6 separate regions of the Homo sapiens genome follow, and regions 1, 2, 3, 5 and 6 are each linked to region 4. The links are contacts of gene promoters, found by promoter capture Hi-C in blood cells and fetal thymus (Javierre and others, 2016). All regions are on one chromosome and are shown on one strand. Each heading gives the region's core, a stretch centred on a gene start or on the middle of the fragment in contact. The rest is flanking DNA. Distances are from core to core; before and after follow the strand shown. Region 1 overlaps NT5DC1 (5'-nucleotidase domain containing 1). Region 2 holds the start of COL10A1 (collagen type X alpha 1 chain). Region 3 overlaps NT5DC1 (5'-nucleotidase domain containing 1). Region 4 holds the start of TRAPPC3L (trafficking protein particle complex subunit 3L). Region 5 overlaps NT5DC1 (5'-nucleotidase domain containing 1). Region 6 overlaps NT5DC1 (5'-nucleotidase domain containing 1).

Region 1 (4,467 bases), core at 565-3,064, 380 kb after region 4:
TGTCCACACATCTCCTCTAGGACATCACATGGGTATCTCAAACCCAAGAGGTCCAAAATAGAACTCTTCATTCCTCATGTTTTATCCATTTGTTAAAATTTCTCAATAAAAAATAAAGCTTAGCAGATAGCAGGTACTACAGGCTACCCCATACCTAAAGAGCTCATGCAATGCTGCATATAGTTGATCAGTATGCAAAATGAATAGCTAAAATCCTCAAAAGGCTTGTTAAGATATATATTTTCCTACCATATAGTCTTTCATACAGAACTTACGGCACCTATCATGATATTCTGGCTAATCACTATGCTTACTGAACTTACAGAAGTGGCAATATAGTAAGCATAGACACAAAATATTGTAACAGTCATAAACTGGAAACTATAACATGTTTTCATTTTTTAAATGTTGTGGAAATTGGTCTCTTGCTTCTGACAGTGGAGAACTATGCCATTTGAACAAATTGTCTAACTGAGGATAACTAGAAAAGTTAAACAAACTTTAAAAAATACCTGCTTAACAGCACTGAAGAACCAAAATGTCAATGAAGATTTAAGAGGTCAAGTTGAGAAGCTGAGGAAAAGAGAAACCCAGAAAGCTGAGCTTGGAATCTGGGGCTTCTGCCTGGAATTAGCAGTAACACCAACTTCAAGAAAAGTAAAGGAGAGCCTAAGAAGTCGCAATCTTCAAGAGGCTTGGAGGACAAAAAATGGAGGCCAGTGCCTGCCAAGGTTAGGTAGAGGCTAATAAACTCTCCAGGGTTTATTAGAAGTTAATGAGCTCTCCAGGTTGACCCAAAAGGCTATACTACAGAAAGAAGTACGAACCAGATATAATACAGCTCTCAATGGCCTGAAGCACAACTTCACATCACCTCAATCTCTAAAAATTGATGACAGGTGATCCAGGAGTGCTAGAGCCCTAGCTGCCTGCCAGAAGCAAACATAAGTTCTCCCTGTAGAAAGTTATCCTAGACCTCAACATTTTTCTCTGTAGAAAAGTACTCTCTGTAGAAAGTAATCCAGACCTCAACATTTTTCTATAAAATTAAAAAAAACAATAGCTAGTATCAATAAAAAATTATCAGATACTCAAGGAGACAATATAATATAAAAACAAAACAAACAATCAAAAAAAGGGGGAAAATACACGACAGAACCAGATCCACAGCAGCTCCTATGGCATGAAGACAGACTGAACCAGATCCACAGAAGCTCCTATGGTATAAAGACAGACTTGAAAACTATAAATAATAAATTCAGGAAGCTCTAAAATAAAATCAAGATTTTGTCAGAGAATTGAAAAATAGAAAAAGAACTAAATGGAATTCTAGAACTGAAAAATACAGTAATCAAAATTAAAAGCTCAATGGATAGGTTTATAAGCAGATTAGACGCAACTGAAGAGAGAATTAGAAAAATGGTTAGAAATGAGATTAAAAGAAAACAGAACAAAAGGCAGACAAGAAAAGAGAGAAGGTGAAAGATCATAAATGATAGTAAAAATATCTTCTAAAATATGAATAACTGAAATCCCAGAAAGAGAGAAAAGAGAAAAGGAGCAGAACAATATTTTTAGAGATAATGGCTCAGAATTTTCCAAAACAAACCAATGGTGTTAAGTGAATATCTGAGAAGCCCTCCAAGGAGAATTTAAAAAAAAAAAAAAAAAAAGACACCAGGTACATCATAAATCGAAGATGAAAAACCAAAGACAAAGAGAAATTAGTAATCTCAGCAAAACAGATTATCCTTTAAAGAACAATTATACTGATAACTGAATTTTCAACATAAACAATAGAAACTAGACTATAGTGCAGAAAATAACCATTAACCTAGACCTCCATTAAAAATATTCTCTAAGAATGAAAGTGAAATAAAAAAATTTTCAGAAAATCAACATCCAATACACAGATATGATTGTTTAGCTCTAATGTTACACTTCATTTGAGCTAAACAATCATATCTATTCATAACAACTTGAGGGCTATGCAACGTAATTATCCAACAACGGTCATGGGCATTGACTTTTCTAGGAAAGCTCTACTTCCCAAGTCACTGAGCCGAAACATTGCCTATGAACAATTCAAACAAATTAAAAACTAACGAAGGGTAGAAGGGTAAGAAAAGAAGGAAGTAAAAAATGCCTGTCAATTTATAAAATATTGCAATTTTATCAAATGAAATCAGTACAAATAACTGGTATCAAAATGATGCATATTTTTTGCCTTAGAAAGTTCTATGTGGGCTGGGCACGGTGGCTCACACCTGTAATCCTAGCACTTTGGGAGGCCAAGGCAAGTGGATCACAAGGCCAGGAGATTGAGACCATCCTGGCTAACACGGTGAAACACTGTATCTACTAAAAATACAAAAAATTAGCCGGCAGTGGTGGCGCATGCCTGTAGTCCCAATTACTTGGGAGGCTGAGGCAGGAGAATCGCTGGAACCTGGGAGGCGGAAGTTGCAGTGAGCTGAGATTGTGCCACTGCACTCCAGCCTGGCGACAGAACAAGATTCTGTCTCAAAAAAAAAAAAAAAAAAAAAAAAATCTTCTATTTGAACTAATTTTACAAACACCTTTTAAGTACAAAGTATGTCACTTTTATATCTGATGCATTTGGTTGAACATATACAAATCATCAGTGATAAAAGATAATTCTACGGATATCACATGCTCTGAATAGTTTTAAGTGTGATTTAATTTTCTTGGGGGCAAAAATTTATAAACCATCTTTATAAGTCCTATAGTAGGCCTAATATGCAACTCTGTACAGAGTAGGCTCCCCAAAACAATTAATAAAGACAAGAAAGGAAGGCAAGATACTTCCTTGGCTCAATTCTTTGGCTCAATTCTGAATAACAAAAAATTATTCTCATTTCAAGGTCAGATTCCAGACATTTCAGAATTTCAGTCCTTTCGTCTTTAAATAGAAACCACTGTGATGAAGTTTACATCAGGGAACCATTTTTATCTCTTACATAATTTAAGTAACTACTAGATAAAAGATGAAAAGTCTCTGAAACTTTAGTAGAAATTTCTCATGGATTTAGATAAATAACTGAATTAACTTTTGAAATACACTACTGACTTGGTTTTAAGAGTGTTTTTTATCAGCATGTAGAAAAGGATGTCAGCAGTGAAAACCTCAAGGGAAATATCTGGGAAACTGGGTAAATGGAGATCGATGCCAGGAGTTTCTCACTCTCTGATGGCCCAACACTCAGCCTCTAGCAATTCATCACAATTACTAGTCAAATATCCACTATTCCCAATACCATTTACAGAAGACAAAATCCTTCTTCCATTGTGATTTCTTAGCACCTTTGTTGAAGATTGGTTGATCCATTCCTTTATGTTTTTAATTAGAACTGAATATCCAACCACCATGTATCAAAATTGTTGGTTAGGAGGAATCTGGATGGCTGACTAGGGATTTTGGATGTCAGTTATCCTCAGAGAGAAGATCAAAGACATAGATGAATGGTCATGATCTGAATGGAAAGCTTAGGGAAGATAGCCAGGATCTGTTGGAGACCCCACTGGTTGATGTGGGGTTGCAGAAAAGGAAAGCAGCAAGAGTCTCGCAGAGATTGACTCCCGAGAACCTCTGAATCCCGCCTGAAGGGTAGGTTGGGGTGCTTCTCTTCTCCCTTCACCCCTGCAATAAGCTGCTGACTGCCAAATTGTCAGGGAGCCTTTCTACCTTCATGACCCCAGGCAATGCTGTCAGTGCGGATTTAGGATCTTCCTGGGGACAGAGCACAGAGTGGCTAGTTTGTGCAGGTATCCCCTCACTCCCCTCAAGCCTGAGCTGAGAGGACAGACACCATACTGGTTGTGCATTCATTGTGGGCTACTACCCTGCATGGGGAATCTCAGCCCAAGTTGTTGCAATCACCAGTACCCTGCAAACATAGCCCAGAACCTGCTCTGACTTGACAACCACAGGGGACCAGCAGGTCCCTGGGGAGCTGTGGGATTTCCAGACATTCAGCCCTAAGCACAGGCTGCCCCTAGAAGAGGGGGAAGTGCGGCCCACTAAGAACCCCCTTGGGACAAAGGAAATGCAGGTACAAACTGATCACTGAATGGGGTGGTACTGGTGGTTGGTAACAGATGTAGAGGGGGGTCATCTCCTGCTCCCTCAGTCCACTGTTGTGGATGTAGGAGAGGCATTTTTCGAATTAACCCAGTCAGACAAAAATAGAAAAGAGAATTTTAAAAAATGAACAAATCCTTTTAAAAATACAGGACTATGTGAAGTCACCAAATCTATAATTTATAGGTATTCCTGAGAAAGAAGAAGAAAAAGTAAGCAATTTGGAAAACATATTGGTAGAAAGAATTCAGGAAAATTTCCCTGATCTTGTTAGAGATATAGAAATCCATGTGGAAGAAATCCAGAACACCAGTGAGATATGATATAAGGTGAACATCACCAAGGTATATAGTTATCAGACTATC
Region 2 (4,513 bases), core at 1,767-4,266, 420 kb after region 4:
GGACTGAAACACATACAATACATTATAAACTGAATGTTTATAATGATAAACACACACACTTTCCTCACTACACCTGTGGAGGATGCTGGGAGCAGCTTATTGTTCTAAATGCTGGTAAAGGCATTTCTCCTGCTTTTTCTATACACACTGTACTTCAGGGTAATCAAATAGTTGATGAAGGGGTGTTTTTCTTTATAGAGAATATCCTAGCTAATAAATAAAATACAAATGATAAAATCAGAATATCATCATTTTATAACCTATAATAAAATATTGACTGTAGGCAATTACCAATGTCCAGTAACACCAAAGAGACACCAGCAATTAAGGGCTTCCTAACAGAAGTATATCATACCACTCTCTGTAAAGGGTTCTTGCCAAAAAATGTATTTGTGTGTGCTGTATCTGTGTGTGAGTGAATGTGTGTATCTCAAACCTGAAATCAGATGAAAACTCTAGATTTAACTACCAATCTCCACAGTAGCAAGTTAAGTGACAACAAATTCTAGATCACAGGAAATTGCATGAGACAGATGACACGGCTTTTCAACAAATAAACTGCAAGGGAGTAAAAAGTGACACAAGACACCTAGAGTAACAGGTTTAGTCCATTTTACACTACTATAACAGAATGCCACAGACGGGGTAATTTATGATGAACAGAGCTTTATTCGGCACACAGTTCTGAAGGCTAGGAAGTCCAAGAGGATGGCACCGGTATCTGGAGAGAGCGTTCATGCTGTAGTATCGCATGGCAGAAGGCAGAAGGGCAAAAGAGGGCAAAAGTGTGCAAGAGAGCAAAAGGGGGCCGAGCTTGCTTCTATATAAAGCCCACTCTCACAACAACTAACCCATTCCCACAATAACATTAATCCATTTATGAGGGCATAGTCCTCGCAACCTCATCACCTCTTAAAGATCCCACTTGCCAAAACTGTTACATTAAGAATTAAGTTTCCAACACATGAACTTTGGGGGATACATTCAAACCATGACAACAGGGATATATGAATCAACCTAATTTCAACAAACAATTTATCAATCAATAAAAAATATATGTGGATATGTATGTATGTGTTTCTATATAATATAGACATGTGTATACATATGTTTGTGTATATACATGTCTATATATGTATGTGAACTACAGGATTTGATGATATTAAGAAATGGCTGATTTTTTAATACGATGATGACATTGTTTTAAAGAAAAAAGACTCCTTCTCTTCTGGAAAAATATACCAAAATATTCACAGGTAAATTGGTACAATATATGGGATTTACTTCAAAATTTGAAGGAGTGGTGAATGAAAAGAGAATTGAGTGACAGCGAGTTGAGATCAGTTTGAATGACAGGCATATAGGCATTTATTGTAACTATTCTCACTACTATAAAAGACAAGTTTTCTGTAAAAAAGTTTAAAAAGCATATGAACACAAATAACAAAAACCAATGTAACTAATATTAACAAGGTGGTAATAGAACACTGATATCAGACTATACATTCTAACTTAGGAGGCCATCATGATCACCTGAGGAGCTTCATGAAAATATAGTCTTTGAACCACCACTATTTTAATGAACCTCAAAGGCTGAAGGAATTGTGCATTTCCCTCAGGACAGCAGGAGTGGGGAAAAGAGGCTGAGAACCACTGTGTAAACACTTTAAGGGTATAGAATATATATTATTCACCCAGTATTTATCTTAATGTCTAACACTTAAGAAGCACTTAAGAAACATAAGGTGAATTAATTAACGATCCACAGATGTACAAATGAATAGGCAAGCTTAATAGTAGCTAACTGCCAGATGTGAAAAAAATCATTATTCATATTTGATATTTAAAAAAATTACTCAGGTTATAGAGTTTAAAGAGTATGGCTCTCTGTTTTGAGTGGAATGGGTTTCCTTCATAAAGCCACAGACTAGTCACTTCAAACAGCTACAAGTAAACACCCAGAGTAAAAATAGTTTTAAATACACAATTGGGTGGGGTGTGGCTAGAAAATATTCTGATTCTACAATCTGTTTTGGACAAGACAGTGCTTCTTATGTGACTAACAAAGCAAACAGCAGTCAGATTCCTTGTGCTGAAATAAGTACACTATTTGCAAAAAGGGTTGAATGTCCAAGGCTTATTCAATAAGGACACCACATTTTCCAAAACTAAAGGGGAGTATAGAATGACAAATACCCACATATATTTACATATCCCTAAAAGAAGACATACAACCTCCTGGTATGGATTTTTTTGTGTCTCTAATAAGTACTAACTGGAGCCAAGTCTACCATCTGACCATGGAGAACAGCAGAATACCTCAAGCACAGGAATAATCTAATTTTAAAACTGGGAGGAGCTTAGAAACCACCTAGTCCAAACTTTTCATTGTGTTGATAAAAAACAGACACCCAGAGAGGTTAAAGTGAAAGGCTCTGAAAATTGTTGCAATAGCCACAGATGAACAAATGGTATACACAGGGGCATAGCACTATGTATTAAGAGCTGAGAATTAGTCTTCTGAACGTTCACGAGTGATAACTAACAGGGTATCAGTCTCAATTATAAGCAAATAGCAGTATGTGTGTGCATGTGTATCACCATATATACACACAAAATATTAAAATATATATTTTAATAATTCCTTTCAAAACAAATTCAACCTAGCATTCAAAAGCATCCATAAAGTTACCTCACCTACTTTTTCAAAATTGTGTCCAAATGGGCCATAAGCCAAAAGGCAGGTGTTTTCTCTCACTTATCTTTTGTAGTCTCCTACAGATGTAGCAGAGTACATATTATAATTACAAAAGCTATTCCATATATAATTTCCAAATGATGAATTATAAACTTTCCTATTTTGTTATTCTAAACTGCTATAAGAAACATATTTTATATGTATCTATGAGTATTATACAGAGATATATACAACAATGTAAATTTTTTTAATATGGCAATCAACAAAATGCTTACAAGCAAGAGGAGAGAGGCAATGAGATGCCTTATCCATTTACATTTCCATAAAGGGCTATACAAGGCTTTGTTTAAAATACAGAAAATTGCTTGAAGGGGAGAGAAAGGGAAAAGAAAAAGGACAAATCTTTAGTTCATTCACTGGTCAAACTTTCAATTATTTCAATTATTGATTAGTCCTGAATCCATACTACTTTAATTCTGTGGAGGTAGAAAAATGATGTGTCTATGCCTGTGTATGGAATTGTCCTCCTCAACCAGTTCACCTGCATAGTCAATTTGATTTTGATTCAAAACGATGAAATTAAATAAGATGAAAAATTTGGACTCTCAACTTCCCACCTTTATTAGATTTTTTAGGATCCTAAAAACTGATTTTAAAGGCTTCCTAATATTGTTAAACAGAGTCTAACTACCAAAATTGACAACAATAGTGTTTACTTCCACCTTTGAGGGAAAGTGTTTCTAATTGGGATGATTCCTAACTGCAAGTTAAGCCAATAATATTTTTTTTAAGCTGAAAGCAAAGTTTGAAAATTTTTTTCTCCTGAAATAAACACAGCAATCTTATGTAAATTAACATAATATGAGATTATCAAATTAAGGGGTTTTTGCAAACTCTACTGCAACTCTAAAGTAAACCCAAATTTAAGCAAGAAAATCTGAAGTCATTTACTGAATATAGCGTAGTGTTGTGAATAAGGGATCTAAATCCTAAAAGCCTAAAAGTAATTAAGAATTGGGGTCAGCTATTTTCACAAAAATTTATGAATATTAATAGACACATTGATAACTTTATGTAATAACTCAATAATTTAGATGATGGTCTAAATCCAGTACCCCCTTCAAGGAATTTTATCCGCTTTTATGTACTACCACATATTATATAATATCAACCAATTAACATAAGAATGTGCTTTTCAAAAATAAAAAGGGGGTATCATCATTCCACCGTGAACCAGCCTGAACACTAGAGTATTAATTAATAAAATAGAATCACAGACAAAGACGGTCCTTGGTTAAAACTATTAATATATATTTAAGACAATGGGTTTATTTTTAAATAAGAAAACAAGGAAAAGGAGAGCCCAGCCCGATCTTGTGTGCCTACCCAATAGAACTTTCCACCATAATTAGTGCTTACCAACTTTGAGGGGAGGAGCTTAAGCTCAGGGTAACCTCATGTAGTAAGGGAAAAACAGTATAAATACCACTGAACAGCTCTTGAGAGGCACCTTCTGCACTGCTCATCTGGGCAGAGGAAGCTTCAGAAAGCTGCCAAGGCACCATCTCCAGGAACTCCCAGCACGCAGGTAAGCGTACGCTTACTGGTGGACTTCCATGTTAACTTGCTTGGAAAGAAACTTTAAAGATTTAAATACTTGAGTTTTCTCAAGTATTAGAAGTATTAAAGTGATTTAAAAAATGGGTTTCTACTAAAATGCACTCCAAAAGTTCTTTTTGCATCAGTCTGTGGATGATAGTCCCAATAAAACCATATTGTAAAAATTTGCCCTAATCCGAATTTCAGTGTATTTTG
Region 3 (4,418 bases), core at 991-3,490, 310 kb after region 4:
ACTTTGCAAGGATAACGGGAAGAGAATCTTTCTACTACTTATGAAAAATTTAAAAAAATCCATAGTATTATAACTTCTTAAATGTTGAGACTCAGTAATCTAATAGGAAGCAAAAAAAAAAAAAAAAAACCCAAATCAAGTCAAAACAAAAAATTCACTTTATACAAACATTACCTCCCCTCCCTGTTTCCAGCCCCTATACTGGAGGCTGCCTTAAGGAATAATTAATTTACAAGGGCAGCTGAGGCTGCGGGTTTTGGCAGAGCCTCCACAGCTAGGAAGCTGCAAGACTCAGAGAATTATTAATTCCTGCAGTAGAGAGCCTGTTCGGACTGTGAAAGCCGCAGAACTGAGGTGGAAGCTGTACAGTACAGAGGAACAAACTCAGGAAAGTTTCAAGCACAGTGTTTATAAACCCAAATAAACACTTTTTACATTATTTAGATAGTACACTGTACTTCTTTGTAAGGTCAATCAAAAATAGTTACCTAAATCTCTATTTTTACATAATATTTAAAAATGTAGGCTGGGTGTGGTGGCTCACACCTGTAATCCCAACACTTTGGGAGTCTGAGGCAGGCAGACTGCTTGAGTCCAGGAGTTCAAGACCAGCCTGGTCAGCATGGTGAAACCACAGTCTCTTCAAAAACTACACAAATTCACTGGGTATGGGGTTGCACACCTGTAGTCCCAGCTACTTGAGAGGCTGAGGTGGGAGGATAGCTTCAGCCCGGAGAAAGAGGTTTCAGTGAGCCGAGATCATGTCACCACACTCCCCACTGGGTGACAGAAGTAGACCCTGTCTAAAAACAAACAACCCCCACCCCAACCCAAAAAACAGTGTCCTGCAAAGAGTACAATGAGGATATTCATTTTAAAAAGTATAATTAAAAATATGTTAGAAGGGCCAGGCATGGTGGCTCACACCTGTAATCCCAGCACTTTGGGAGGCTGAGGCAGGTGGATCACGAGGTCAGGAGTTCAAGACCAGCCTGGCCAGAATGGTGAAACCCTGTGCCTACCAAAAATACAAAAAATTAGCCGGGCATGGTGGTGCGTGCCTGTAGTCCCAGCTACTCGGGAGGCTGAAGCAGGAGAATTGCTTGAACCCAGGAGGTGGCGATTGCAGACTGGACTTCAGCCTGGATGACAGAATGAGATTCCGTCTCAAAAAAAAAAAAAAAAAACAGTTATAAGATATAGAAAGATAAACGTTAGAAGATATAGAAAAAAATAAAGAAGACAAAGGGGATAGATGGTGATGATAATTTGCTTCCACAGTTTTAAAATGGGGATAATAACAATGCTTACCTCACAGAGTGGTTGTGTAAATAAATTAATACAGATAAAAATGGAGCACATGGAAAAGTGTCTGCCACAAAGTAAGTGTTTAAGAAGTCTTAGCTATAATCCCTTCAATTTACAGGTGAATAAACTGATATCTGAAAAAGTTAAGGAATCTGCCCAAAGTCACTGAAATGTTATAGTAAGAGCCAGGACAAGAATGCACTTTGCCTCCTTATTCCAAAGGATTTCAAATTGGGGCTAGAAGACAAAGTAAGATGATACTCCCAGAGAGCATTTCCGAATTTGGATTCCTGGACCTGAATGTGTCCCATGGTATTGCCACAAACAGGAAACAACTAAAGCACAGAATAAACCTTTATCTGGCATCCCTGAGGACACCCGCAAACGAACAATTCTCACTTAGGATGGAGCCTCAGCCAACCTCCTATGGCATCTTTATATAAGGCTCAAATTTAGTGCTGTTACAATCTTCCATATATATTGAAAACAGGTCAGCAATGAATGAAGAAAAGAAGGAGGGCTTTAGAATGCCCTTTGAACTGAATTTTATAGTTTATTATTTTCACAATGTCCCTCAAATTCACTGATAAAAAACTTTATTTGATAAAACAGCAAACCTGTATTACTTTCCTAAAATTCCACTGTCCCAGCTTTAATTAAAGCAATCTTAACAGTTAGGTAAAATGTATTAATTGAAAACATTTTTCTATAAAAATATATTATTAGGACAATTTTCTATACCAAAGTTCTACAAGATATACAAATTATTCCTCAAACCCTTTAACTTAATCACTAATAGATGTTTGGGTTATAAAATAACTACAAAGGAGAAAACTCATAGGAGAACAAAGCTCAAATCTTTTCTTTTAGCCTACAAACTACCAAAAAACTGACCTAATGAAGTTAAGAAACAAATGAAGGTTGGATAAAGAGATGGAGGAGCCATCAATTTAGGCAAATAAATAAAACTAAAGCTGTCTTGGAAACTGTAATTTATTCCTAAATATAGCTATGTCTTACTACAATGAAGTAAATCTTTTTATTTTCTTATTGTAAGAACATATGGACAAGACGAGTTTAAAAAACAGTAAAGTTTTTGACAGTATAATAGTTACAAAGTAGATATGGGACAATGATACAGTCAAGGCTAGACTGACAGCCTTGAATAAAGCTAAGCAAAACTTACCACAGAGAGCAGAATCTGTGAGAAGTTTTGTAGGCCAGAAGCACTAACCTCAACTCACAGAGACTGCTGCCTCCCCTAAACTCCCCAAGTGCTTGGTGTCACTACTTTATTAATGTTTAAAAATATGCATTTATGAGATTTTTTTCTGAATCAGTAATATATTTACATGTTTTTTAAGTCTTATTTTTGAACTCTATCTGGTATGCACTCACCTCTTCTCCTCTTTTATGCATATAAAAGCAAATACGAATATGAGTATATTCTTTTCCTCCATGTTTTTACACATTTGTTGAGACATAATCAACATACAATAAATGGAATATATTTAAAGCATACAATTTGATGAGTTTCAGCATATGTATATACTTGTTATGGCCTGAATTATGTTTCTCCCCAAATCATAAGTTAAAATAATAACCCCTAGTATATCAGAATGTGACTATTTAGAGATGGAGCCTTTAAAGGCTGGATTAAATTAAAATGAGACTCTCAGGGTGGACCTAATCCAATAGTCTCCTTTTAAGAAGATGAGATTAGGACACAGATAGACACAGAGGAAAGACTATGTGAAGACACAGGCAGAAAACAACCATCTACAAACCAAGAAGAGAGAGGCCTTAGAAGAAACCAATCCTGCTACAACCTGGTTTCAGACTTCACAGCCTGCAGAACTGCAAAGAAATAAAATACATCGTTCAAGCTATCTAGTTTGTGGTATTTTGTTACGGCAGCCCTAGCAAACTAATATAATACTAATAATTTTAAAACGCTTTTAAATGCTATTATTAGAATAATCTGCATGAGGCTCTGCAACTTGCTATTTTTAAACTATTTTATAGCTAGCACAGTGTAATCTACCTCCTTTTAAAATATGTGCATTTCATTCTATTTTACACATGTTCTATTATTTATTTATTAATAATAGTCCTCTATAGATAGACATGTGGGTTGTTGCCAATGTTTTTCTGTTACAAGTAAAAAGTTACAAACATGAGAGGATCTGCACAGCCTGGTGGAGTCAAACAGAATCTGAGCTAGAAATACAATTCATTTTCTTTCTCGTCTCATTCTTCATTTTTACTATATTTCACAGACTGTTTTAGTCAGTAGGGATATAGCAGTGAATGAGATGGCTCAAGTCTCTGCCCTAAACATCTCTTCCCTAAGGATGCTTATATTCTGGTGGCAATCTCTGACTTGTTAGAGGTTACTAAATAATGAATTATGATTAAAAATATATTTACAATTTTTATTTCTAGGATTCCTTTCTGTATATATGTAAATTTGACCAAACAGTTCATATTTACTTTTATAAATCCCTTCCTCAATTCTGGGCTAGACTTTTTTTTCTCCAGTTGTTCATTTTCATACATACTTTCTCTGTTTCTTGGCATGGACAGGTAAGACATTTTTCAAGTAAAATGTCTAGTAAAATGCTTGTGTTGAGGGCTATAACAGGACAATTATACTATTAAAGAAAAAGTGTGATTCTTACTCTTATCTACTTTGGTTTGGGGGGGGGATTTACCATTCATTCATAGTTCTTTTTTTTTTTTTTTTTTTTGAGACGGAGTTTCGCTCTTATTGCCCAGGCTGGAGTGCAATGGCGCTATCTCGGCTCACTGCAACCTCTGCCTCCTGGGTTCAAGCGATTTTCCTGCCTCAGCCTCTGAGTAGCTGGAATTACAGGCACCTGCCACCACGCCCAGCTAATTTTTTGTACTTTTAGTGGAGATGGGGTTGACTAGTTCGCTGATGGATTCAGCCTCCTTCATTCGGGGAGCTGTTAATGTTGTTGGAATTGTGCTAAAGACAGAAAGATTCCTGCAGACAGCTGCACCCCTCAGCACTAACATCCGCTGACAAAGTTCAGCAGACAATTTCCCAACTGTAGCCAAGTGAAAGCACTAAACAATACAGAGAA
Region 4 (4,498 bases), core at 673-3,172:
CTGCTGAAGACTAGCAGGTTTCATAGACTGAAAACCAGCAAACCAGTGTCCCCTGTGATGATGAGTACAGCTGTGGTCGTGAAGGTTGTGCTTTGTACAGTAGCACCTGGCAGGGGCTCTGCTCCTTCCTTAAGCTCGTGTCTTGACTGGAAGGTCAATGGAGCAGAGGGGAGCCATGTCAGTCTGAAGTAAAAGCCGGCTTTTTCTAATACATCCAATGACATCCCGAATTCTCCCGATGGCCATAATGTGACCATACCACAGCCATTAGAGTTTGGTGAAATTGATTCCAGTACCGCCATCACCTCGCAGCAAGCACACAGGCCCTTTGTAGGTTATTCTCTGGGGTATCTTACTCAGAACTAGGATTGCCCACAAATTGACCCAGCAACATGCTGTCCCTGCACCTTAGTAAGCTTTTTGAGTCTGCCTCTAAAATAGTTTGCTCTAACATAATTAGAGTGTGTGCGGTACAAAATAAATTTGACTTGGAATCATCAAAATTAGCCCAAATCCCTTCTTGTTGCCAACATCCAGATAACCTTGAATACATTTCTCAACCTCTCTACTTTTAGATTCTTATCCTGTAAAATGGCCATGATTACAGTACTATTTCACAGATTGTATCTGAATTAAAATGAGATGAAGAGAACGAAAACCATGTTGTAAACTGTAAATTTGATATACATATAAGTCGTTATTATTTGCTACTGAAAAACTCTCCACCCCATACCCCACAACTAAGTGAAATTAATTTTCCTGAGATCATAGTGTCATAGAACATATGCAGTGATGGAAATGCCTTAGGTATTGTAGAATTCCATTCAATTTATCCAACCACAAGAATAACCTATAGTAACTAGTTATTATATGGTGCATTTTAATGTGTTTTACGGTACGCCTCGTCTCTTTGGTTCTCACAATTATTCTGTGAGGTGAGTGATATTGTTGCCATTTTGCAAATGTGGAAACTGAGTCATAGAGCAATAAAATGGCTTGCCCAATGCCACACAGCCAGTAAATGGTAGGGCTGCAACAGCCTGAGCCTTCCAAATCCTCCTAGGTTCTTTCAACTACACCACACTTTTCGTCAAAGTATTCTTGAGTTTGTCACTTTATAGCAAGAATTTTCCAGAACAAATAGGACTAATGGACTCAAACTATAAGTAGAAGAAAATTACTTTCCTAAACTGAGTTTTCCGCTTCCATTTCTGGAAAGATTTTGATCCTACTCTGCACCCTGCAGTTGTCAAGGTGAAAGGATTTTTTTATTTGAACTTTAAGTATTTCTGCGTAAATAAAGAGAGCCTTCAATAGCTTACGTCTCAGGAGCTCTCAAAAGAAAGCTAAGGGCTTACTTTCTCTATCAGAATCATTATACATTATGATACTGTAGAGCGCCCATTTTGAACAACAGTTTTGTAAGAAAATATTGCCCATTCTATCACTCCTTAATGTTGTTGATTGCTGCTAATGAAAAGCAAAAAAGTTACCAGATATATTTGAATACTGTAATCACACAAGATAGGGATCTATGGTTTTGGGGACAGTGTGATAACCATTGGTGTAGTTGAGGGATCACGTTTTAACTCAGGATTTATTACCTACAGATTGCTGATCTTGTCTCTCTAATTCTTACAACAATCAATCCAAGACTGAATAATGCTAACATTTAGATCTATCTTGGATTGCGAAGGTTTCTGTTTCTGATTTTAAAACAATGTCTTGGCCTGAGAACAAAACACCACTCTTGAACTCCCTCGGGCTAAAGAATTTTTTGAGTTGCAGTGCTTCAGGTCTGACTTCACATTATCAGCTTTTATGGCTCTAGATTACAATTCATCCTTACAAATGAAGCAGTTATTTGATCCATGGCAAGTTACGTGGCTATAAGACAATCCTGTTGTTCATGGTTTTTTTCCCTCTTCAGCTCAGCAAAGAGCAAAAGCAGCAGAGTGCAGAAGCAGCACTCCTGTCTCAAAGCGAGGAAGAGCTTACAAAAACAAAACAAAAAGACATGGACTGATACACCTCTAAGAAACAGGCAAAAGAAGAGAAATTGAAGATCATATTCTTCATCTATCAAGCACTATGTCTCGCCCTGCACACCGAAGACCAGAATACCATAAAATAGTAAGATCTTTCTACAAAGAGATTTTTTCTACTTCAGAGAAAATGTTTTCTTGAGTGATTTCTGATTGATTTTAAAAACTGATGCTATAAGAATTTTTAGTGGAGGAAAGACAGTGTTCAGCGAAGTGAATCATAAATGACACATCTAGGAATAATTATGATTATCTCCTACATAAAGAATAATCAATTCTTTATACACACTTTAAGGTCTTCTTTTCTGACTAATTATATCAATATGAGTGTCAATTTTTTCACCTCTGACAGAAAATATGAAAATATTAGCAATTTTTTCTATTTCATACTTCAGGAAATGGGAACTTACATATATATGTATATGTATATATATGTATGTATGTATATATATATGTGTGTATATATATAGTTGATTATGTGTAAAACTGAATCGAAATAGGTCATCAAAAAAGGATTGCCTTTAAAAATGTTTCCTAGTCTTATTGTAGCTTGGTATGTAATATCATCCTTTCTATATATTCCAGGTTAAGAGTTATTTATAAACCTTATTTTTTTGCAGATTAGTTTTAAATAATATTCTTTAATACTCTCTTATAGTTTTAGTCACTCAGATACTACAGATACAAAAACTCACTGTTAACTTTAAAATTCTGTTAATTATGTCAGGAGACTGATGGGCATTTGATATAATTAAGTAATTTCAGACTTGGTGTTTAGAATTGTAGTGACTAACTAGCATACTTCAGTTTGAAATGCCTGCAGATACCTCCTCTGGCCTTCTGGGATCTTGATTTATTTTCCTGTGGGACTCTCAAGTGCTAAAAATATATGGTACATAGTTCATATTATACCGAAATCACTTGATTTTATAAAGCAGTTAAAATGTATTTTTATCCTGATACATTCATAACCTACTGAAATAGTTAATGATGTTCTTTCAGATATTCATATGATTATTTTTATTGTTTTAAAAACGATAAAGATAAACTTATGTTGACCTTTCCTGGCATCTGTGGTATGGATTTGAGACCCAATTGAACAGATAGTTCAAGGTACAGTCCTTGGCCATGAAGCAGAATAGAGAAAGCTGGCCTTTATGGGTACTGAACCAGAAACTCAGCTGGAAATAAAATAGATTTCAATATATAATAGTGCCCACCCATCAGGGACAGAGAAGAAATTCCACTATTTCAGTTTGGCCTTAATTATAAAGGGACACAATGTTGGGGCCATGGCATGTAGGTAGGGTATGATTTTTTCTACTTTTCTCTTTTTCAAATTCTTTTGTTTTACTGCTAGTCACAACAATCTCATCATTCTCTCTCTCTCTCTCTCTCTCTCTCTCTCTTCTTCACCTTTGCTTATCTTTATGCTGTAGCATTAGTACATGGCAGCACTTTGTCTTCTGCTGTGGCTCTTATATGTTGAGCAGACTTTTCATTGATAATTTACCAGCATTTCTTGTGATTTATTATTAGGTTCTTGGAAAAACCCTAAGCCAAACCTAAATTGTCTTAAGTTTTAGTTTTCATTTATAATTTACTCTAAAAATGGGACATATTTTGGAGAACTATAAGGAAATATCACATTCCCCTTTTTTCTCTAAGTAAAAAGAAAAGAAACTCACAAATTTGCTGCTACATTTGGGTTTATCCTGAAGGTCTCCTTGGCAGATCTGGGGGCCATTAGGGATTGTGCAGACGCCTGAGAAGTCTTATCCAATTCTTGCTTCCAACTGAAAACATGGATGGCATATATTTTAGAAAAACAGAAATTTATGTTAGAAATTAGTATTTTTAAAAAACTGTCCTCCATGAAAATACATTGCAAGTTATCATGTAAGCAAATGCATAGAAAGATGTTATCATGTTACGAAATTCATTTTATTTAACAGCTCTCTCTCCCCCACCTCACATCAATGTATCCAAATGTGAATATAATTTGTTTTCAAAAGTGCAAATTGTTGCAATAATAGGAGGAAGGAAAAAATGTACAGGTGACTTCTAAGGCTACTTCAAACCAGATTTTATAAACAAAAGAAATACAGTAGTATACTGTCATAACTTGCCTATAACCAGAAACTACCCCTTTTTCTCCAGAATAAAGATCTCTTTGTCCTTACCTATGGAGCTCTGGTTGCCCAGCTGTGTAAGGATTATGAGAAGGATGAAGATGTGAACCAATATTTAGATAAAATGTAAGTGGAAGTCCTTCATTCTTATTGAATGGCTGTTGTTTCTTACATCACCTGCATTCTTTCTGCCTCTAATGACTTCCTTTGCTTCATTTCACCAGCTGTTCTTCTGTCTCAATTAATCACATCTGAAAGCTGAACATAATTTCTTACAAGTGCCATTTGGGTTGATAGAATAAGATAATAGGAAGGATTTTT
Region 5 (4,006 bases), core at 325-2,824, 440 kb after region 4:
TCCTTGGTCCATTCTGGCCAGAAAGGCCCCATGTCAGGGAAATACATATGGGGACCAGGAAGGTGATCTAAACAAGTCATGATGCCTCTATCAGATACAGGTAATCACTCTTGTTTCTCCACACACACATACACAAAAACCATTAAAAAAAAAAAATCTAAAGACAAAGGACAAAGAAAGCCTCTGGAAGCAAGTACAATAATTACAATAATAAATACTCTGTTGATTGCTGACAGATCTTATTTCTCAACAACAAAAAATGCTAGGTTTTTGAGTAAAATATCTGGTTTTTAAGTGCTGGCTAACTTTAAAAGAACTGTACATACCAAACAAAAAGTGCACAAAAGGTAGATGGTCCAACCTTATTCTACCTCGAAGTGTTCTTTGGCCAGTGTTGGGTAAACTTGAGCCTGAGCAGAACAGTTGTCTGAGTCAACCTGCACAGTGTCCAAAAGGACACACTGAACAATCTGACCCTTCTTCTACAGATATTAACCCACAACAGGTTTCGATAACATGTCATACTTTTAGGGAGAAGAGGGAGGCAGAGGAGCAGGGGAAATCTCTCCTGGGTAGTGAGGTTTACACTGATACTTAGATGCAGCAGTTCGCTGGGTGAATGCAGAGGGAATGGGGGGCAACTCAGGTTCAGAAACTGAGGGGCCTGCACACAGCTGGAGTAGGGGTGTCGGGGTCTGAGTGTCAGGATATGAGCATGGAGAAAGCAAAGGCTCCTTGTGAAATGTCAAATCGAGTTGCTCCCTGTCATAAAGCTAATTAAAATCACTACACATGTACTTCCATCCAGTGCAATGTGACCTTATCCAGGTCAACTGTTAATTGAACCACATTATGTTAACACTATATATCAACAGTTCTTAACCCTGGTGGTGATTCAGAACCATAGGTGACACTTCTTAAAACTACCCAGAGCTTCCAAGCATACAGGGTAGAGAGGGCCCTCTCTGAAGCACAGAGAACACTGAAAATCACTGACCTGCATGTTTTACAGATTTTTATTCAATCATTAAAAGGAAAAAAGCAACAAAAAATACACTGAGTCACCCTGTGGTACAAAGTACTATGGACAATAAAAAGTCCACATCACGATCCTGCTTATAAGAAACCAGTGCTGCAGGGCTAACAGATGTAAAATGCTTAGAGCAGAGCCTGGCACACCAGCAAATCCAATTTAAGTATTTGCTATTATTATGTTGTATGCTGCTAAAAACAAAACAAAACAAAACAAAAAAACAGAAAACAAAAACACTGCCCTGACAGGTAGCGCTTGCCCATCTCCACGGTGTAAATATTCCCACCATGGCCTGTTTCAAGTCACCAACAGCAGTTTACCTGCTTGCACAATTCCTGAATAGTTAACAATTGGCTTTCACAAGCCCCTAAGAGCCAGCTATTGTACACCTTAGATTTGCCTCTCATTGAGGCACTTTTGAGTTTCTCCAGTTATTCAAGTGATTAGTCTAAGATATGGGCATGTAATTCTAAAACACTTGAATTCTCCTGGAAGAAAGGAGCCCTTTCCATCAGAGACGCCAACAGGGACAGCAACAGCTGTGTTCCTTACCTTGTGGAGGAGATTTTTCTGTAACAGGAGAGAAGGGGGCCAATGGACAAGGAAAAGAAGCAGAGAAAAGCAGTGTGAAGAAAAGCAGGGGCATCTGTACTCTGAAACCCCTGGTCTAGGCAGAAGGCTTCTTGCAGTTTGTCCTTAGAGTACGCTGAGTCTCTCTAGAAGCCTTCATGGCACAGGGCTCTCCATGACATTCCTCCCCCAGCCTTAGCTATCACCACCTCACAGTCTCTCAGGAGTAATAATAATACACGTTCTACTGCAGTTGCCAATTGGTACCCTGTGGTCCATATGCAGCCTACAAATTATGTTTGGTTCCCACTTAAGGTTGCCAGATAAAATTTAAAAATGCCTAGGTAAATGTGACTTTCAAATAAAAAACAAATAATTTTTTTTTAGTATAAGCATGCAATATTTGGGACCCCACTCTCCCACTCACACATCTACGTTAACTGACTGGTATCAGACTTCTGAGTCTGCAACCTTAGAGAGGAGAAACCATGTGTCATCCTCTCTTCTAGAATGCCTTTCCTGAGGCCTCATGTGAGGGGGACACACTCAGTTCTGTGTTTGCACAACTCTGTGCAGTTGTTAAATGCCTACAAAACTGAAAGGAGACGCACTCACAGCTCTCCATGATGCAGCCCCCACTGACTTCTCCACCATCTTCTCCTGCAACTTGCCACCTTTTGCTTGCACCCAGCAGTTCCCGGTGCTGTTGCTCACCTCGAGGTTCTGACCTTTACTCTAACTCCTCTGGGTGAAGCACTCCTCTCCACCTCCTCACCTGCCAGCTCCCGGCCTTTCCTCTGTGTTTTCGGGCACCATACAGACAGCAAGGTGGGAAGAAGCAGAAATCCACAGCCGGACTACCTCGCTTAGTTGCCCTGGATACACTTTCCTTCTGTGCCCCGTTGCTTGATGCTCTCTTAACAGTGACTAAATCACTGTTAAGTGATTAAACAGTGGTGATAATATCTACCTCACAGGGACGTTGTAAGGATTAAATCCATTCATATAAGCAGCATGCTTATTAGAATCATGGCTGTATCATATTCTGTTATTAAAATACCTATTATCTATTCAGTCTATTTATTGAGTCCAGTATGTGCCCAGCACTAAGCTCGGCACACAGAACACACAAGAAACTGTCACAGATACTGATGGAGTCATCACGCTGGGCTCTAGGGGAAGTCCAACAAGTAAACAGGAAGTGTTAATATCATGCAGCATGTGCTATGAGGAATGAAGGGTTTTGTGGAAAACTGAAGGTGGGCTTAGAATGGAAGGGCAAACTTTAAGGGCCAAAAAGACTTCCTAAGGGGAACGATGTTTAAGATGAGGCCTGATGGGATGAAGAGCTTCTGTGCAGAGCAAAGAGGCCCTCCAGGCACTGTTGGCAGCGTGAAGCAAGACCCAGGTCATACTACCCACCACAAGGGACCAAGACTAACTCTTCAGCATTTTTGCCTACTGTGTAAGGCTGCCTGGAGGCCTGCGTGTTGATCTCTGTATCCTCAGCTCTAGCATGGTGCTCAGCACACTGTGGGACTTAAAATAAAAAAGATTTCCACACCAAACATGATCCAAAACTCAATAGGTTACTGTTTTCAAGCTTTAAACATCACTTATTCTCCAGGTTTGCAGTAAAAAAACCTCTTGTCTTTGAGAATCTTATATTCTGAAATTTTATGATCACCTATGGACAACACTAGCTCTAACATGACAGTGGTTTAACAATATTACCTCCAAATGAAGGTAACTAAAGAGGAGACACACAAAACTGTGAACCAGGAAGGATTCGAAAGACACAGAGGGAAGGAAAACATGTATCAAAGACCTAGGGGAAGCAGTGGCCAAAGAATCAAGCAGTAAAAAAGCCTTCTTAATTCTCAATGTGACTAAGGAAACCAGACCTGTAAGGTAAGAAAGCAGGAAAGTGTAACAGCAGAAAAAGGACATTTAAAAAAAAATTTAGCATCTGGGCATAGAAAACACACGAGAAATTCGGGCAGCCACTCTTTTTTGACCTTTAACGTGTACCTGAACTGGTGGGTGCAGGAACTGGCGGGTGCCCATAATGGGGCACAACCCTGGCTGATGTCTGCACCAGTGATCTAGAGTTCTACCCATAAACTGTGAGGTTTCCAAATAGTTTGGGTGGTAACCATAAAAGCAAACACTTGTCTTTGCCAAGGTACTATTCTAAGCATTATACATCTCTTACTCATTTAATCCTTGCAACAATCTTGTGAGGTAAATCCAATTATTAGCTCCATTTTACAGATGGGGAAACTGAGAAGCAGCACAGGTTAAGTAACTTCCTCGAAGTCACAGAGCTAGTAACAGTGGAGCTGGTGTCCTAAGCTAGGCAGTCTGGCTGAGGAGTCCTCGCTTTCACCACTGTACTCATAA
Region 6 (4,565 bases), core at 1,396-3,895, 360 kb after region 4:
CTTCTTTATTGAAATCAGTTAAAAATCTTAAAAGGCAAAAACATACATATAGCATAGTATACAATAAGAGAATTATGTGCTTCCCCTGAACGGAAGCATTTAGCTGTAACTAAGTAACTGCTGTCTACCATTACTTCATTCTTTTCTAGTTCCTGCATATGAATGGATTTTTGTATCCATCTTCTATTAAGGATGCTGTTCTATTAAAATCATTTTTTTTTCATCCTCAGAACATTTCACCATGGCCAACTATAAATATTTACTCTCATTTGACAGGCAAGGGCCTTTTAAAAATAGAAAAACAGTCTGCATAACTGGTTTAAACTTTTGAACTTTATTTAATACACAAGAACTATAGAGAACCAGTAGTCTCAAGCACAACTCAATGTCATCCAATACTCATTCGTTTATATGTTCATTTGTGTCTTCTCCTCCTAAATATAAAAAGGTTCTAAATTGCTTGCAAAATATAGTTAGAAATGAGAGGGAGGTATATAAAGAATAAGTATCCCAAGCTAAAGAAAATCAGAATAAAATGTCAAGACTACGAAGACAAAAAATAAATGTAAATATACTGCAATACTGGAACTATATGTAAGTCTCAAATCGGGTTGTGAGCTTACTAGCCCTCAAAATGAGGGAAAAAATATACACATGCACAATCAATTACACAATTCTAAAGGTTTACAAGAGAAAAAAGTACCAGTTAATAAATAGAAGTAAAACTTTTATTACAATTTGTACCTAAAATAAATTTCTCAAGAGTGGTCAACTAAAAAAAAGAACAAAATTCAAGTAGGAAAGGTATTACTACTAAACATCTCATTTCAACTTGATTAAAATAATTATTAAAAAATCAATTGCAATGAGAAAACTGATAATGACTTTAACTGTGAATATACAAGGATACAACTTCTAGAATTTATAAAATCTGTTTTAAATACAGTGAAGTTCTAATGTGGGGCCAATGATAATGTTTTATTTATCCATTCCAATTATAAATTAAACTCCACTCTGCAAAATGGTAGTGAAGCTTAATTATAAATAAACAGATCCAAATTAAAAAACAGAGTATCAGCTATGAAATAGGCCTTCTCTCCTTAAATCAGAAGTTATACATAATCTTAAAAATTATAAAACATACACACACATAGAAAAGACAAAAAACATAAATCTGTGCTTTGGTTGAAATGTTATAAACATTCATGTAATTGCTAATCAGGTAAAAAAAAAAAAAGTAGAAAATTTCCAGGATACCAGAAGTCCTCTGATACCACCCTTGAAAGGTAATTGCTATCCTCATATCTATGGTACATCCTTACTTTTCTGGCTTTACTACCTAATTATGCTCTAGTGTAACCCATTTTAATATCTATTTTATAAATGCAACCATAGAATATGTATATCCTGTATTACTGGCTTTTTCTCTCTCATTTTCTGTTTTTAAGATTCATTCATGTTGTTCATAAAGCTTCATTTTCATTGATGAATAGAATGTCACTGTATGACACACTGCATAGCAACTGCACTATTGAGGGATATTTGGGCTGTCTCTAATTTGGTGTAATAGTGAATGCCACTAAGAACATTCTGGATGGTATATATTGCAGCCTAATATGGCTGTGTCATAGGGAATGCTCACTTTCAACTTTATAGGATAATACTCAACAATTTTCAAAACCAACTCAACAATTTACACTCCCACCAGCAGTTTAAGGGTTCTCTTTGCTTCACATCCTCACCAACCACTGAAATCACTAGATTCTTTAATTCCAACTATTCTGATGGATATCTAGTGGTACCTCATTGAACTTTAATTAGCACTCTCATGACTGTTAATAAGCATAAGCACATTTTCATGTTTATTGGCCATTTAGAGTTCCCTATTTGTAAACTGCCTGTCAAGACTTTTGTTCATTTTCTACTGGGTTGCTGTCTTCCTGTTACTGATTTATAGGTCTTTTTTACACTAGATAAAAGTCTTTTTATCATTATATGTATTCCAAATATCTTCTCTTCTATAACTTGCCCTTTCGTTCTTAGTAATTTTTTATGAAGAGAGACGTTTAATGTTTGTCAAATTTATTCACTTTTCCTTTACAATCAATCAATACTGTTTCTATCCTATTTAAGAAATATTTCATTATCTTTAAGCTATGAAGCTATTTTTCTCAGATTTTCTTCTGATAGCTTTACTGATTTGCCTTTCATATTTGTTTCTATAATCCATGTGAAATTGATTTTTGTCTAATATGTGAGTAGGGATCAAGTTTTATGAATTTCTACATAGATTTCCAACTCTCCAGGCACCCTTTATGACAGTCCTTTCCCCACTGCTCTGCTGTACCTGTTCTGTCATCAAGCATGTGTCTACAACTGCAAAGGTCTTTTCTGGCATCTCCGGTTCAGTGATCTTCTAGTTGTCAGTCTTTATACCAAAAGCACTCTGACCAAATTACTGTAACTTTAAAATAAGCCATGAATTATTTGCTAGTGTCTTGTAGGACAGACCCTCTTGCCCTGTTCTTCATGAGTGTCTTGGCTCTTCATGGCCCTTTTCATTTCCATATAAATTGTGGCATGAGCTTCAGTTTTCTATAAAGAAACTTGTTAAAATTTTGGTTGGACTTAACAAAAATACAACTAATGACCCTCACAGAGTCCACTTCGCTCCCCTGCTACCTTTCCTGGAGCAGGTGCTGGTAGCCACAGCTAAGAGACCTGAATACAGATCACATCACAGGACTCTGTGCAGACACTTCCCAGTACCAGATCAAAGCCCAGTAGCTCTGCTGGGTGGCTAGATTCAGAGGAGAAATAGCATCACTGCAGTCTGGCTCTCAGGGAGCCATTTCTAGGGGAAAGGGGAGAACACCACAACAAGGGAGCACCCTGTGGGACAAAAGAATCTGAACGGTAGCCCTTGAGTCCCGGATCTACCATCTGACATAGTTTACCCAAATGAGAAGGAACCAGAAAAACAATTCTGGTAATATGACAAACATGGTTAACACCCCCAAAAGATAACACTAGCTCACCAGCAATGGATCCAAACTAAGACTAAATCTCTGAATTGCCAGAAAAAGAATTTAGAAGATCAACTATTAAGTCAATCAAGGAGGCACAAGTCCAACTTAAAGAAATCAAAAAAATGATACAGGATACGAATGAAAAAATCTCCAGTGAAATACATGGCATAAATAAAAAAGCAATCACAATTTCTGGAAGTCAAGGACACACTTAGAGAAATGCAAAATGCACTGGAAACTCGCAGCAACAGAATCGAACAAGTAGAAGAAAAAGTCAGAGCTCGAAGACAAGGCTTTCAAATTAACTCAATCCAACAAAGACAAAGAAAAAAGAATTAAATAAAAATGAACAAAGCCTCCAATAAGTTTGGGATTATGTTAAATGACCAAACCTAAGAACAACTGGTGTTCCTGAGGAAGAAGAGAAATCTAAAAGTCTGGGAAACATGTTTGAGGGAATAATCGAGGACAACTTCCCCAGCCTTGCTAGAGATCTAGGCATCCAAATACAAGCAGCTCTGGGAAGAACACCTGGGAAATTCATCGCAAAAAGATCACCACCTAGGCACACAGTCACCAGGTTATCTAAAGTGAAGATGAAAAAAAAAAAAAATCTTAAGAGCTATGAGACAAAAGCATCAGGTAACTTTTAAAGGAAAACCTATCAGATTAACAGCAGATTTCTCAGCAGAAACCCTACAAGCTAGACAGCATTGGGGTCCTACCTTTGTTCTCCTTAAACAAAATAATTATCATATAAGAATTTTGTATCCAGTGAAACTAAGCTTCATAAATGAAGGGAAGACACAGTCTTTTTTAGACAAACAAATGCTGCGAGAATTTGCCATTACCAAAAGAGAACTACAAGAACCACTATAAGAAGCTCTAAATCTTGAAAGAAATCCTTGAAATACACCAAAATAGAACCTCCTTAAAGCATAAATCTCACAGGATCTATAAAACAACAATACAATGAAAAAAATCCAAGGTTTTCAGGAAACAACTTGCAGGATGAATAGAATAGTATGCTACATCTCAATACTAACGTTGAATGTAAAGGGCCTAAATGCTGCACTTAAAAGATACAGAATGACAGAATGGCTAAGAATTCACCAACCAAGTATCTGCTGTCTTCCAGAGACTCACCTGACACATAAGGACTCACACAAACTAAAGGTAAAGGGGTAGAAAAAAATATTCCATGCAAATGTATACCAAAAGCAAGCAGGCGTAGCTATTCTTACATCAGACAAAACAAACTTTAAAGCAACGGCAGTTAGAAAAGACAAAGTGGGACATTATATAAGGATAAAAGGACTAGTCCAACAGAAAAACATCACAATCTTAACTATATACGCACCCAACAGTAGAGCTCCCAAATTTATAAAACAGTTACTACTAGACTTAAGAAAAATGAGATCAACAGCAACACAATAATAGTGGGGGACTTCAATACTCCACTGACAGCATTAGACAGGCCATCAAGACAGAAAGACAACAAAGAAACAATGGACTTAAACTATACCCTAGAACAAA

Evidence for each region. The method cuts DNA at HindIII sites, captures the fragments that hold promoters and counts their contacts. A CHiCAGO score of 5 or more calls a contact.
Region 1: a contact is called between a fragment that was not itself captured here and the fragment with the promoter of TRAPPC3L in region 4, in 3 of 17 cell types (naive B cells, fetal thymus and M0 macrophages). The highest score is 6.0, in naive B cells.
Region 2: a fragment that was not itself captured here is called in contact with the fragment with the promoter of TRAPPC3L in region 4 in 4 of 17 cell types (naive B cells, naive CD8 T cells, total CD4 T cells and 1 more); the score reaches 7.9 in naive B cells.
Region 3: a contact is called between a fragment that was not itself captured here and the fragment with the promoter of TRAPPC3L in region 4, in 15 of 17 cell types (neutrophils, M2 macrophages, naive B cells and 12 more). The highest score is 20.5, in neutrophils.
Region 5: a contact is called between a fragment that was not itself captured here and the fragment with the promoter of TRAPPC3L in region 4, in 1 of 17 cell types (neutrophils). The highest score is 6.1, in neutrophils.
Region 6: a fragment that was not itself captured here is called in contact with the fragment with the promoter of TRAPPC3L in region 4 in 11 of 17 cell types (total B cells, neutrophils, M2 macrophages and 8 more); the score reaches 13.2 in total B cells.

Annotation. Positions count from the first base shown.
Region 1 is chr6:116,165,290-116,169,756 of GRCh38, reverse strand. The region is part of intron 6 of NT5DC1 (5'-nucleotidase domain containing 1); the gene reads right to left. It also overlaps a transcript of COL10A1 not described here. Among named protein-coding and RNA genes, the nearest start is that of COL10A1, 41 kb to the right of the region's middle. The HindIII fragment of the contact is 3,388 bases long and covers 121-3,508 here.
Region 2 is chr6:116,125,826-116,130,338 of GRCh38, reverse strand. All of the region lies in intron 6 of NT5DC1 (5'-nucleotidase domain containing 1), which reads right to left. It overlaps COL10A1 (collagen type X alpha 1 chain), which reads left to right and starts at 4,207. Exons shown (of 3, transcript NM_000493.4): 1 at 4,207-4,286. RefSeq lists a silencer at 1,879-2,173. The HindIII fragment of the contact is 2,449 bases long and covers 1,792-4,240 here.
Region 3 is chr6:116,230,747-116,235,164 of GRCh38, reverse strand. All of the region lies in intron 8 of NT5DC1 (5'-nucleotidase domain containing 1), which reads right to left. Among named protein-coding and RNA genes, the nearest start is that of TSPYL4, 21 kb to the left of the region's middle. The HindIII fragment of the contact is 5,967 bases long and covers 1-4,418 here.
Region 4 is chr6:116,543,108-116,547,605 of GRCh38, reverse strand. TRAPPC3L (trafficking protein particle complex subunit 3L) reads left to right here and starts at 1,922. Exons shown (of 5, transcript NM_001139444.3): 1 at 1,922-2,133; 2 at 4,206-4,303. The coding sequence starts at 2,092. It also overlaps a transcript of CALHM4 not described here. The HindIII fragment of the contact is 9,007 bases long and covers 419-4,498 here.
Region 5 is chr6:116,101,875-116,105,880 of GRCh38, reverse strand. All of the region lies in intron 1 of NT5DC1 (5'-nucleotidase domain containing 1), which reads right to left. Among named protein-coding and RNA genes, the nearest start is that of NT5DC1, 3.0 kb to the right of the region's middle. RefSeq lists an enhancer at 2,786-2,855. The HindIII fragment of the contact is 3,268 bases long and covers 1-3,208 here.
Region 6 is chr6:116,185,379-116,189,943 of GRCh38, reverse strand. All of the region lies in intron 6 of NT5DC1 (5'-nucleotidase domain containing 1), which reads right to left. It also overlaps a transcript of COL10A1 not described here. Among named protein-coding and RNA genes, the nearest start is that of COL10A1, 62 kb to the right of the region's middle. The HindIII fragment of the contact is 2,343 bases long and covers 1,474-3,816 here.